Regions from separate parts of the Homo sapiens genome. Here region 2 is linked to region 1. The links are contacts of gene promoters, found by promoter capture Hi-C in human tissues and cell types (Jung and others, 2019). All regions are on one chromosome and are shown on one strand. Each heading gives the region's core, a stretch centred on a gene start or on the middle of the fragment in contact. The rest is flanking DNA. Distances are from core to core; before and after follow the strand shown.

Region 1 (6,210 bases), core at 1,825-4,324:
GCCCCTCTTACTCAGCTTCATCACTAAGGTGACATCACCCACCCTTACCAAAGAGACACTTTAGGGAGTCCTCAGTCACTCAAAAATTGGGTTTAGGCATCAAACAAGTAAGAAGTGAATAACCTAATACTGAAGTGCTCTGGGTATTAGGACTGAGTTACATTTTTCCATGCAATTCCTGCTTTCCTTCACTATTCAAACTTAAGGATTGCATTTTTCCTGAAGCTACACTTTCCCTCCATGATATGGAAGGCCTCATCTTCTTACCTGTTTTATCTCCTCCATTTTCTCCTTGAGCTCTTCTCTCACTTCCCTGAGTTCATTCTGAGGAAATAAAATGGAGAAGAGAAGGAGGAAAGAAATATCTAGGATGGAGGGGAAACCATCAACAGGAGGAAAGGAAAGATCCTGGGACACTGTCAGAGAAAAGCTTTCAATAGGGAGGAAAGAAAAGATGTTGTTGAGACAATAGGATAGACCAGGTGCACTGGCTCACACCTGTAATCCCAGCACTTTGGGAGGCCAAGGCGGGAGGATCACTTGAAACAAGGAGTTTGAAACCAGCCTGGGCAACATAGCGAGACCCCCACCCCCATCTCAAAATTAATTAATTAATTAATGTTTTAAAAAGACTATAAGATAGTGGGACCTACAGGCATCATGTGTCTCTGCCAAAAAATGCACAGCCTGAATCTCATCATGAGGAATCCAACAGACAAAGCCAAATTGAGGGTTATCCCACAACATAAGTGATCTGTAATCTGTAAAAATGTCAATGTCCCCAGACGAGGTGCAGTGGCTCAAACCTGTAATCCCAGCACTTCAGGAGGCCAAGGCAGACAGATCAGCTGAGGTCAGGAGTTCAAAACCAATATGGTGAAACCCTGTGTCTACTAAAAATACAAAAATTAGCTGGGCATGGTGGTGCACGCCTATAGTCCCAGATACTCGGGAGGCTGAGGCAGGAGAATTGCTTGAACTTGGGAGTTGGAGGTTGCAGTGAGCCTAGATCATGCCACTGCACTCCAGCCTGGGCGACAGAGGGAGACCTTGTCTCAAAAAATAAAATAAAAATAAATAAATGTCAGTGTACCCAAAGAAAAAGAACTGTTCTGTTCCAGATTATAGAAAAGACACCTGGTAATTCGAGGCAATGTGTGATCCTGGATCAGACCCTAGACCAGAAAACGTCCCCTTTCTGTTGTTATGCAACACATGTGTGGGACAACTGGTGAAATTAGAACAAGGGCTATAGATGAGTATTGTCTGTGTGTTAACTTCTGGATTTTGATAATTGCACTGTGCCTATGTAAGAGGATATTCTTGTATTTAGGAAACAGGCACTGAGGATTTGGGGAAAACTTACACTCACGTGGTTTGGAATATAGACATGCCTCCAAGTTCACGCACTCACCTTTAGGTCCTGTGTCACTCCTGCTTTGGTAAACCGCCCTTCTTGTTTAACTGCTTTGTAATCAAATGTCTGTGGATTGAAACAGGAACACAGACCTTTGGGAATTGCAGATGGGCGGTGGAAGTGCAGAGGCAGAAGAGATCCCCCTGTGTTTCTGTTCCTCCCTTAGGGCTAAGGCAAGAGGAAAGCTGGTGGCCCCACCTGTGCAGAAGGTTCCTCTATCCTCCTCCCTCTTTCAGCTCATCTTGTTCCACTCCCCTGCTGGCCCACGGGGCCTCAGCTCCTTTTGTCCCTTGAACAGCCAGGCTCATTCCCACCTTGGGCCTCAGTGCATGCTGCCTCCTCTGCCTAGAAGGCTCTTACTCTGCCTTTGCAAAGCCAGAGTCTTGTCCTTCAGCTCTCAGCTCAAAGGAAGGCCTTTCCCTACCACCCACTCCACGGCAGCCACTCAGACATGTCTCCCTGTCTTGATTCCCAGCAGAGCAGGTAACACTGCTGAATGAGTCCTTGTTCGTTTATGTATCTGATTGGTTACAGTGTGAAGTTCTATGAGAGCAAGAACTCTCAGTGCATCCCCCAGCACCTGGGACAAATCTTGGCCACTAGGATCAGCAAATGACCCCTGACTCCTGGTCACTTCCCCATGGATCTCAGGCCTGGCTGCCTGCATGGCCTCAAAAGGGCTTCTTACTTTGGTCGGCTCTGGCTTCAATTCCAGGCAAACTGCCTTGTAGTTCTTGCTCTGCAAAAAGAGGAGACTGAGATTCAGGCTGGCAGACATCAGGATTGGGGAGGAGAACATCTGGCCCTTGCACGGGAACCCTGCCCCCTGCCCCCCACAACCATGCAACCCTGCCTGTCCAACTGGCTTGAGCTCAGGCTCACAGACCCCGCAGCACCCGGATCCGATTCCTAACAAATCACATCTTGTCGTGCTGTCCTCTTCCTATGGGCGTGTGTCTGCCTATTTGGCAGGCAGCCCTCTCCCTGCTGGAGGCGCCAGCGTGGAGAAAGCACTTTAAGATAACTAGAAGCAAGCCCCGGAAGTGTTGTTTCCAGAGCAAGGGCTTTGGCCATAGGCAGATTTGCACTATAGTCTCAGCTGACCTCTCTACTATCTCTGTTATTTTGGGTGAGTTGCTTAGCCTCTCTGAGCCCCCATTTCCTCATCTATAAAATCGACGTGATGATTATATTTATCTAATAAGGTTATTCTGAGCCTTAGCCCTGCTGGTTAGATGTGGGCCTGGCAGGCCTGGCATGGGCCGTGGAACCATGAGTGGTCTTGGAGTAGGGAGTGCTCCCTTGGCAGTGCTCCTCATCCCCAGAGGGAGGCAGCAGAGGCCTCTTTCCTTCCCACCCCCAAGGCTAGGGATTAATCCCACACCCCTTCCAGACTGAGAGGCTGCTTTATGCTCAGTACAGAGAAAGAAAAACCAGAGATTCATGCGAGCATTCTCTGTATCCCTTGCCCCGACACCATCTCCATTCAGTAGGAGCTCAGAGAGGACCCACACTGTCCAGCAATGTCTCTCTTTTACCAGATGTGTTTTCTTCAATTCTGCCCTCTTGGCCGACATGATGGAGGAGGCCAGGGTGTTCTTCAACTCCCCACAACAGCCCCTGGGACCAGGCCACTGTCCTAGGCAACTTACAGGTCAAGGTGAGGGCAGGGTGACCACCCCTTTGTGTACGGAACAGCTGAGGTCACAATGCCAGGACCCACATGGTGGTCCAGAGCGTCACCACAGCTTCAGGCCTGGGGGGCTTCGGCCACTGAGATGAGGGGTTCAGGCCAGGTTTCAGAGTCCCACCAGGCCTCCCTCTTGCAACAGAAGGAAAGTCCACACTGAGGAGGATCATGGCCTGCTACGGTCGAAGTGCAAGGCACGCGTCAGAAGCAGTGGCTCCTTCTGCAGCAGGACTCACCTACTGACTCAGAAGGACGTCCTCCAGGGACAGCCAGCTCCTCCTCTGAGCGCACAGCCCATGTCCTCTGCTGTGCGCTCCTCGCGCGAACCGACCCCACCTCGGACCGGAAGCCACCTTGGGCTGGAGGATGCCATGAAGTCTCTCTGGTTCAACGTGCATGCACCGTCTCACTTAACCTGGGTTACTCTGTATGAGGTGGGGTAGCCAGTCTCAGCAGGATGGTTTCTGATGCCTCTGACCTCACACTGCCCCTGTCCCACAACCACCCCCAGACCCCTGCCCACCTAAAAATTCTCTTTTCCTAGTTCTTCTATCATCCGGGAAGAGGGTTGGGACAAGAAGCTAAAGATAAGAAGCTTTTCGGGCAAATGAAGAATACTAAAGAAAAGGCCATTCTGCGGGTAGCCATAGTTTGTGCTAAAGTAGACAGTCAGAGGAACATGGCACCCCATGGGATAAAAAATCACTGGGGATCTGGGTTGGTGAAATTGATTTCTCTTTTCCTCTTATCACTGGTCATTCACTTCCTTCTTCCCTCTCATTTCAACTGCTAGTTGCACAGAAAAGGCCAACATGGACATCTGAGGACAGACAGCACAGGAGTACAGGAACTAATGCAAATTGCATGTGAATGACATCCCCATGCAGGCCACTACTGACCACACTTACCCTCCCATTTCACACACCTGCTTGGGACTATCCTTCCTGGAGGCCACTGGAACTTCTGGAGCCACCTGCAGCACTTCTGATGCATTTCCTAGGTGGTGATTTCCCAGCCCTGACACTGGTGACAGCTGTGGGTCTTACTCCACCATAGCCAGAGGAGAATGTGTCTGCCACTGCATCAGCGGAAGGAGAGGGAGTTGGGGGTGGTCACCAGCTTCCCAGGCTTCACTTTCCCCACTTATAAATGAGGGGCTGGAACTTTTCAGTTTCCTTGGACCTTTTAATTCAGCCCTCTCAGATCTGATGGCCTCGTGGTAGGAATGCCCTTCCTCTAAGGGAATTACAGTGAAAATGACTGACTCCATCTCAACATCCACCAGCCCCGTGAAAATGTGCCCCACCTCCTTCTGCTAATTTTGGCTTGGGGGCCTCCTGGACCTGCAGTAGAGCTTCCCTTGCTTGGCTGAGCAGTTGTTAAATGAGCTGCCTTCTAGCCAAGCATAGCACATGAGCCCACTGGCCTATCTATTAGGAAAGAAGGTCTAAGAGAAATCAGGGTCTCAATGCAAAGCTGCATTATAAAGTAAAAAATTATCTATGTATATATACACAAGTACACATGGTATTATCATTTGGGCAGAATTTTAACTACAGAGCCACAGCTCTGGGCTTGTGCCTTCTCACAGCGTTTACTATTCATGTTCTCAAACATTGTACACCATTGTTTTATCGATATATTCTGGCGGGGCTGGGGGAATCCACGTGGCGAACCTGAATACTGATTATTTATTTATGAAGAGACAGGATCTTGCTCTTTCTCCCAGGCTGGAGTGCAGTGGTATGATCATGGATCATTGCAGTCTCGAACCCCTGGACTCAAGCAATTCTCCTGCCTCAGCATCCTGTGTAGCTGGGACCACAGGCATGCGCCACCCCACTCCCAGCTAATTTTTAAAATTTTTTTGTGGAGACAAGGTCTCACTATGTTGCTCAGGCTGATCTCCAACTCCTGAGCTCAAGGGATCCTCCCACCTCGGCCTCCCAGAGTGCTAGGATTGCAAGCATGAGCCACCATGCCCAGTCTGAATAATGATTCTCATATTCTTTTAAGAAGCTTTTGCACCTGCAAGAGAAACGAGGTTGAAGCAGTGTTGCAGTGTTGGTATTGCTGTGGTGTGACTTTGTTCTAGGTAAGCCATAGGACGTTCTTACTTGAAGAACGCCAGACACGCTTTTCCTAATCCCCCTTCAGGGCAAAACCCCTCTGTACCAGGGCAAGCAGCATAGAGCCCACTGCTGCTCCATCGGAGTTTGGGGGAAAAGGAATATTCACAACAGACAGAAAGAAGCAGCCACCTGTCTCTGTTCTCCAAGTTGATATCATTTGGGTTTCATTTTCTTTACAAGGGTCCTGCTTTTTTTTTTTCAGTTTTAAGGATACAGTGTTGTGAGGGGAGGCTGGGGTCGGGGGGAATTTTAAAATGGTTTTAAGCCTCTGAGTTTGGCATTTTGTGATTCTGGGTCTGGCCCATGATGAGGTCCAGGCTCAGCCACTCCCTGCGTCAAGGCCCAGAGAACATGAAGAGAACATCATGCGTGCTGAGGGGCCTATTCGACCACTGGGGGCCCAATGTTCTAAAGTCCTTTGATTAGGGTGGAACATTTCACAAAGACCCAGAATCCCACAGGCTTTGCTGTCCAGTCAAACTCAAACAGACACGGCTCAATACATGTGACCTAGACGACTCACACTTAGGATGCCCTGGCTGTTTACATCCCAACAGGCTGCAGTATCTGGGTGGCTGCCCTCAGCCAGAGACGATCTTACATGAGATCCTCTTACATGACATTTTTAGAGATCTCATATGATTGATTCCTGTGTCATCCTACTTGACTGATTTATAGACACCTTGGAAAGCTTTACTCCGAGCAGAGTAGAAATAGCTTTTATCATTGGCACACTGATTACTATGCAATTTCTGATCATTTTTATCATAGTGTATCAGACCTTGGCTGGAATCATAATCCTATTATGTTGTTTCTTTGGAAAATTTATATCCAGTTTTTATCATATGAACTTCCTGGTACCTCTATTTCAGCAACAAAACATAACAGTCTGAACAGATCATTGTAAATCTCTGGCTATTTCAATACAGCCAATGACAAGTGAAAAGTCTGAGCAAATGTATTGTGGAAGG
Region 2 (6,210 bases), core at 2,505-5,004, 39 kb after region 1:
TCTTTCACTCCTCCTAAGATATTTATTCTATCTCATGCAAATTTCATCACTTTTGTCCTTCCTAAACCCAAGAGTATACATAATCGGGTCATGACAAAGAGAATGCTTCTAGAACTAATAACAATCATTCAAACATGAAAAGAGATTCTATTTAAAAATTCAACACTCCAACATTTCTTGCTTTTAAGAAACTAAATCCTTCAACTGACGCATTGAAAAAACAAAGTATCTCAAATTATCGGCCCCCAGGTAAGGGGTAGGAAGGCAACTATTTACTGCTGGGGTAAGCAGGAGATTTCACTATTAGACTTGAAAAAGGGAAGGAGAATGGAGAAGGGAGCCCTTCTGGCTTTCCACAGTTGATAGGAGAAGGTGGCCTCCAAAGGTGTAGCTGAAAATGCAGTGAAGCTATGGCATGTGGCTGTTGGGTTTGGCCCTGTGACAAGTCTAGTCTGGTGTCAAGCGTGTGTGTTGGGCTCAATGTCACAATGGGGTAGACTGATGGGACTGAGGTAATCCTGAAGAGGGTTCCTTTCCCACGCTCAGTCCTATAACCAGCCTTCTCAGGAACTCCAAGCTAGAGGTAACTAAAACTAACCCTCTATGGAAGGGGAAACAAATACGAATGCAAACTCACTTGATGGCAGTTATTTTGCTCTGGGACTTCCAAAGAAGAACTCTGCTCTCAATCTGGTGTACCTCTGAGAACACAGTGAAAGCCAGGGGTCTACAGAACCACAGACCCATCAACAAAGGCCCCGGGTAGACTAAGATCTGAAAAGCTTTACTTCCAAAGTCAAGCTCATTCTTAAGGGCATATAGTTAACACTTGTAGCAGTCTTAGGTAATCTTCTTTTTCTTTCATAATCTTAACACCATCACAGAGAAACACGGAAGCAGACCAGTCAGAGAAAGCTAATTCTGACCAACTTGATACTATATGAAAAAAAGCAAAAAGCTATAGCAGCATGATTACCTCATTTTACCACATTTTTCTTACCGTTAGACTGCCATAAACCCCAACAGTACCTTGGTGATAGTGCTTGGAACATGGTAAGTGCTCAAGTGCTTGTTATAGTTACCTAGTTATAATCTCCCCTCTGACATGGCTTTTGCTGCAGAGACTCAGGGAATATGATGACCTGATGGAAATGTGACTCTTTTTGCTGCTTCAGCTCAGATTGCTTATTGCTTCAGTAATATAAAAGGGGAATATGAAGCTCTTTTCTGACTCCTACCAACACTGTCCTCATTAATGGTCAAGTCTGTTGTCAGCTAGACATGCACTTTACAAGCACTTCACCTGAATTCCAAATTCCACTCAACCCTGATCTATCCTGCGCCCCACAATGTGGTGTTGTTTTGAGGGAAACAGGAAGTGCAAGACATTGCTATCTTAATCTATTTGCCTCTCTTCAGCCATGTACCTCCTCCCAGCAAACAAAGTTATTTACCTACTTGAACTGAGGGAAAGCCAATTAAGAAACATCTCCATAAAAATTATCACCTGTTGGTGGCTTCTCTTCTTAAAAAATCCTTCAGAGTAACTTATACAGATTGCAGCATTCTCTAAAGAAATACTGAGAAAAAAGGTTGGACAGGAGTAGGCTCACAGGATAACTTAACATTTAACATCTATCAGCAACTCTGAACTTTTAGCTTATTGGTAATGCTCTATTATTATTATTTTTTACTATTTCTTCTTCATTCAAGATAACCTGGTAGTAGAAGGCTGCATAATCTGTCCAAATGTTTTGGGCATTAAATCTTTCAGTGAAGACAGCCCTCTAAGGAGCTCCCATAATGCTAATAAGATACACTCTATCCATCAAAAGCACATTTGATTTTTTGGGGCTTCTCTCAATTCCCAATATAAGTAATTTTATCAGCCCTCTGTAATCCATAATCGGCACTTAAGAGCTTCCAAACCTCAATGGCAAGACATCACCCACATTACATACTTATGGCCAATGAAACTGACAATTCTCTTACCAGGTTTTCTGTGGCACAATTGAAGGCTTTTACAAAGAATGAATTAAACATGGCTTGAGCTGAGAATAGCCAGAAACAAGAACAAATCTATGCTTACATCCCTCCTCCTTCAACAAAGGACACTACACTTTGGAACAGTTACCTCTTTTTCCTAATAAAATAAGTGATTTTGACCACAGTGTGCCCTCCGCTTGGAGAGAAGGTGTAAGAATTTGCAAACCAAAACCAAAGGTGAAGAAAACGTAAAAGTGCCAAAACAGCTGGATATAAAGTGTGCAGATCAGATAAACACAGTGAGAAACTCCCATTTTAGATCTGTCTGGCAGAAACAGGGATTGCTATGAAAGAAACTGTTTTAAAAGGTTGTGGGTTATGTGGCCATGGTGAGGTTGCTGAAACGTAAGGTCCAACACAAAGATCCACCTGAGAGAGGGCAGAGCTCAAGAGGCTGGAATGCAAGCCTGGGACTTGGTGAAAAGGAGGGCTTGGTGTCTGTCGGCATCACTCAAAAGAGGGCACTATACATGTTCTCTTATAAATATTCTGTTATGGAGAAACACTCACTTGATGCATATGGCTCCCTCAGGTCCTTTTTTTTCCATCCCCTTTTTCTAGAAAAAAAATTCTTTAAAGCTTATAATTTAAAATCAACATCAACTTATTCGAGAAACATTGTTGCTTTCTCAATATAAAACAACTACTTAGATCTTGCTTAAAGAGGTTTGAGACCCTTTTAACATTATATCTGAACAGCATAGAAGGCATGAACTTTTCCTATTTGTGCAGTTATATGTACATATGTGTGAATATATATTATATATATATTTGTATATATAATGTCTGTTTAACATGTAACCTTCCATACTTCTGGTAATCAAGGTTGCATTCAAGATGACATTGCACACCTCTGGAAAAAAGGAAATGAATTCGTTTCCATGACTTTTTCTGTTCTATAATAATAAGGCTATGGATGACAAGTGTTGAAATTGGGTCATTATTGTCAGATCTACGAGCATTGGAATAATAACTGGAATGTGCCATCCTGACACTTTCCATTATTTTCTTTTTCTTTTAAGAGAGTGATGCTTCAAATTTGGATTTCCTTTCTTTATTGAGGGGATAAGGGGAAGAAGTACTTTAAAAGTTAAAGATGGAGATAAAATTACCCCCCATAGATTTGCTAGTACAATGGATAGAGTCTTTATCCCAAACAAAAATTATAACAACACATAGAAAAAATTTTTAATAGGAAATATTCAGAGATTCCAGCTGTGGTATGGTTAGCCCTTTTCTGTATGGAAGAAAGGGTGTTGATCTGGATGGCTTATGGACAGCTATTTAAATAACCTCTCCAGGGGAGAGTAAACCCTGTTGGTGATGACAGCTCCCACTATGGGGAGGAAAGCACAGTGAATGTGTGAAGATGAAGATGGTATGTGGAGACACAAATATTTATAGTTTTGTAAACTCTAAAGAGGAAAAAGAACACCCTTTATTACAATTGGGGTTAAAAACAAAAAGCCCCTGTCTAAAAGAGAAGACTCCCATCTGCTGTAGACAGAGGAAATAAACATATTGACAGGAGTTCAATAGAAATTACTCCTAAAGTCCAGTTTTGATGCAACAGCTTTTGTCTGTGTCCTCTGAAACAGTGAATCCCCAAATCAGATTAGCTGTCCAACCAGAACCAGTCTTGGTTGATCAGTGGAATAAATTATTGTTTTGTATGGATCTTGGTATTTGCATGTTTTCTGAAAGGACAAGAGGGCCAGAGTGGGGTTTTTAAACTAGTAGATGAATCCCTGAAAAATTCCTTCTCACAATGTCCTATTGCACTCCATGTGCTTCTATCAGATAGATGCTTGGTCTCTACCTACTGAACCTACAGGCTCATGTCTCGCTCACACAACAGTTCCTACTTTACTTCCTGTAACAACTGCAGTGCTTTCAACAAGAGGAAAACAATAATAAAAATAGCAATAATCAAAAAGGTAATCTACATTATTAACTTCCTTTTGGTATATTACAGTGATATTTTCTGTACATGGCCCAGAACTAAGTTCCCTATGTACATAGAGATGTGGGGGAAAAGCATTGACCTTGGAAGTCGCCGCCTTATGCCCTGAAAGACAAGGTTCCTTTCTTCATTCAGGAGTTTCTCACCACATCGCCATTGTGAAGTAGCAACATTCTGTAAACCTGGAGGGGCTAGGTAAAGGTCTGGAGATAGGAGAGTGGGTCAATTTCCTTCTGTCTCCTTCCACAGACAAAGCCCGTCAGCAGCTGCTGTTTTTGAATTCACCATTCTCCGTGATGGAAAGCTTGGTGGGGTTGGTGGGGGAGATGCCATTGCGGACCTGCATGCTGTACCGCTCCTTCACTTGGGTCAGCGCGCTCATCAGTCTGGTGTTGGCTGAATCCAGGGACACGATCCGTTTTTCCTACAACACACCAATCATGGCTTTATTCAGGCTACAGGCAGGAGGTAACACGCTTTCTTTACTGAATGACTAGTCCAGTGCTTTCTCTCAAACAGTTGTATGCATGGTGCTTCCCAGACAAATGGAACGTCTCTGCCTCTTTCTGCACACTGGTCAGGTTCAGCTTCCCCTGAGCCCAGTGGATCTGTGTTTATTTTTTTCTCTCTCTCTTTTTCTTTCAGCATAGCAGGACTTTTTATTAACAATCTCTTGGGACATTAGACTGTCATGTAAAAGTGATACCATGTGTTACCTCAGACTATGCAACACAGGTATCAAGCTGCCTTATTATACTAAGTGCTTTAGGTCAAAATTGAAACATGGAAATTAGGTGGCAAAGAAAGAAGCACCAGAGGTTTCATTTCACAGAGGAGAAGAGCATGTGATCTATGGGTTCTTAGCCCCAAAAGAGGGCATATCAGTCACATTTGGAAGGAATTCACATTGTGCTCAAAATTAAAACAATACATGGTGGCAGTGTAGAGTCACCAACAAGGTGAGGTTGCAACAGCAAGAGGGGAAAAAAGCAGCCAAAAAGCTCAGACCAAGGAGTTACTTGAATATGGGGAGGGAGATGTGCCGAAAAGGGAATGCCATCAACATAACACATGAGAACAAACAGAGAACACAGGCTCCTAGACCCATTCCAGCTCAAAGTTACTCCAGGAGGGCTGCCCAATACGGAGATTGCTTTCATTTTACTTTTGAGTCTCTGAAAAAAAATGCTTTAGAAACAATATTTGGAAACCAAGCATTGGTGAATACACACACACAAAAACCAAGGGGGAAGAAAAGAGGAAAAAAAATAGGCAGTCTAACTAAAGGAAAGTAGGACTATCTAAAATTTTTTTAATAAAATCATTTTATCAAAACATTATCAGTCTCCTAAGGATTAGGTTAGAAGAGATACCCTAATCTTAGCTTCAGCAGCTCAGTAAATCATTCTAGAACCTTTCTAACATGAAGTCTATAGTTTTCAGAAAACAACGCAGGAAACAGTCTTTACCTATGCCTGTAAAATTAAAAAGAAAATAACACATAGGGAATACCTCCAAAGCCAAAAGGAGTTTTACTACCTTAGGGGTTTTTAAAATTGACCCTGAGAAAAGCATGGTAAAGTTTAGTCATGGTAAAGTTCAGAGAGGAAGTAGCAGGGCTCAGGGCTGGTGCTGCTCCTTGCTATTAAAACAGCAGCTACCCAGGGCTGTCATGTAGTGCTACACTTTGGGACACATGCTACTGGGAGCATGCAGAGTGAAGACCACGGCCCTGGGGGAAAAATCTAGGTAAAATCACATACCACCATGGCATCAAGTAATACTTCCCTTTACTCTCCTGCTTTCTGGGGGCAGGAGGGTAGGATCCGTAAGGCAGCAGTGCTGGTGGTCACAGTTTCAAAAGTATATTAAAAAAAAAGAAACAACAACAAACTAGCTCTTGCTTGTCATTATCATTTAAAAAAAAATCCTTCTTTCCCTGATGGAGAACTCATGTGGTAAGATATACAAAATCAGCACTATTAATGACCCATGCATCTGGTATAAAATGCTTTTTATTTTAGGAAAGTAATTCATTTTAAGGATAGACAAAACTAAAGGAAAGAGCTGCAAGGCTTTTAAAAAATAATTATTATTAAAAAAATTTTAACCAATGAAGTTTACTGGGATAACAAATATAGATCTTTGAAAAGCCAATAGGTAAGAACTGGCCAGTGAATACTAGAAAACAAGAGGTAAGA

The links. Contacts are between HindIII fragments. The study calls those that stand out against the background at their distance.
Region 2: a fragment that was not itself captured here is called in contact with the fragment with the promoter of TEX35 in region 1 in 1 of the 25 tissues and cell types used here (dorsolateral prefrontal cortex).

What each region holds. Positions count from the first base shown.
Region 1 is chr1:178,509,973-178,516,182 of GRCh38, reverse strand. TEX35 (testis expressed 35) reads right to left here and starts at 3,074. Exons shown (of 9, transcript NM_032126.5): 1 at 2,956-3,074; 2 at 2,106-2,156; 3 at 1,415-1,483; 4 at 268-324. The coding sequence starts at 2,994. LOC101928866 (a long non-coding RNA gene) reads left to right here and starts at 3,133. Exons shown (of 6, transcript XR_001738307.2): 1 at 3,133-3,541; 2 at 3,901-4,107; 3 at 5,124-5,202. The HindIII fragment of the contact is 4,578 bases long and covers 1-4,414 here.
Region 2 is chr1:178,471,298-178,477,507 of GRCh38, reverse strand. RASAL2 (RAS protein activator like 2) reads right to left here. Exons shown (of 18, transcript NM_170692.4): 18 at 1-4,433. The coding sequence ends at 4,269. Among named protein-coding and RNA genes, the nearest start is that of CLEC20A, 23 kb to the left of the region's middle. The HindIII fragment of the contact is 4,100 bases long and covers 1,705-5,804 here.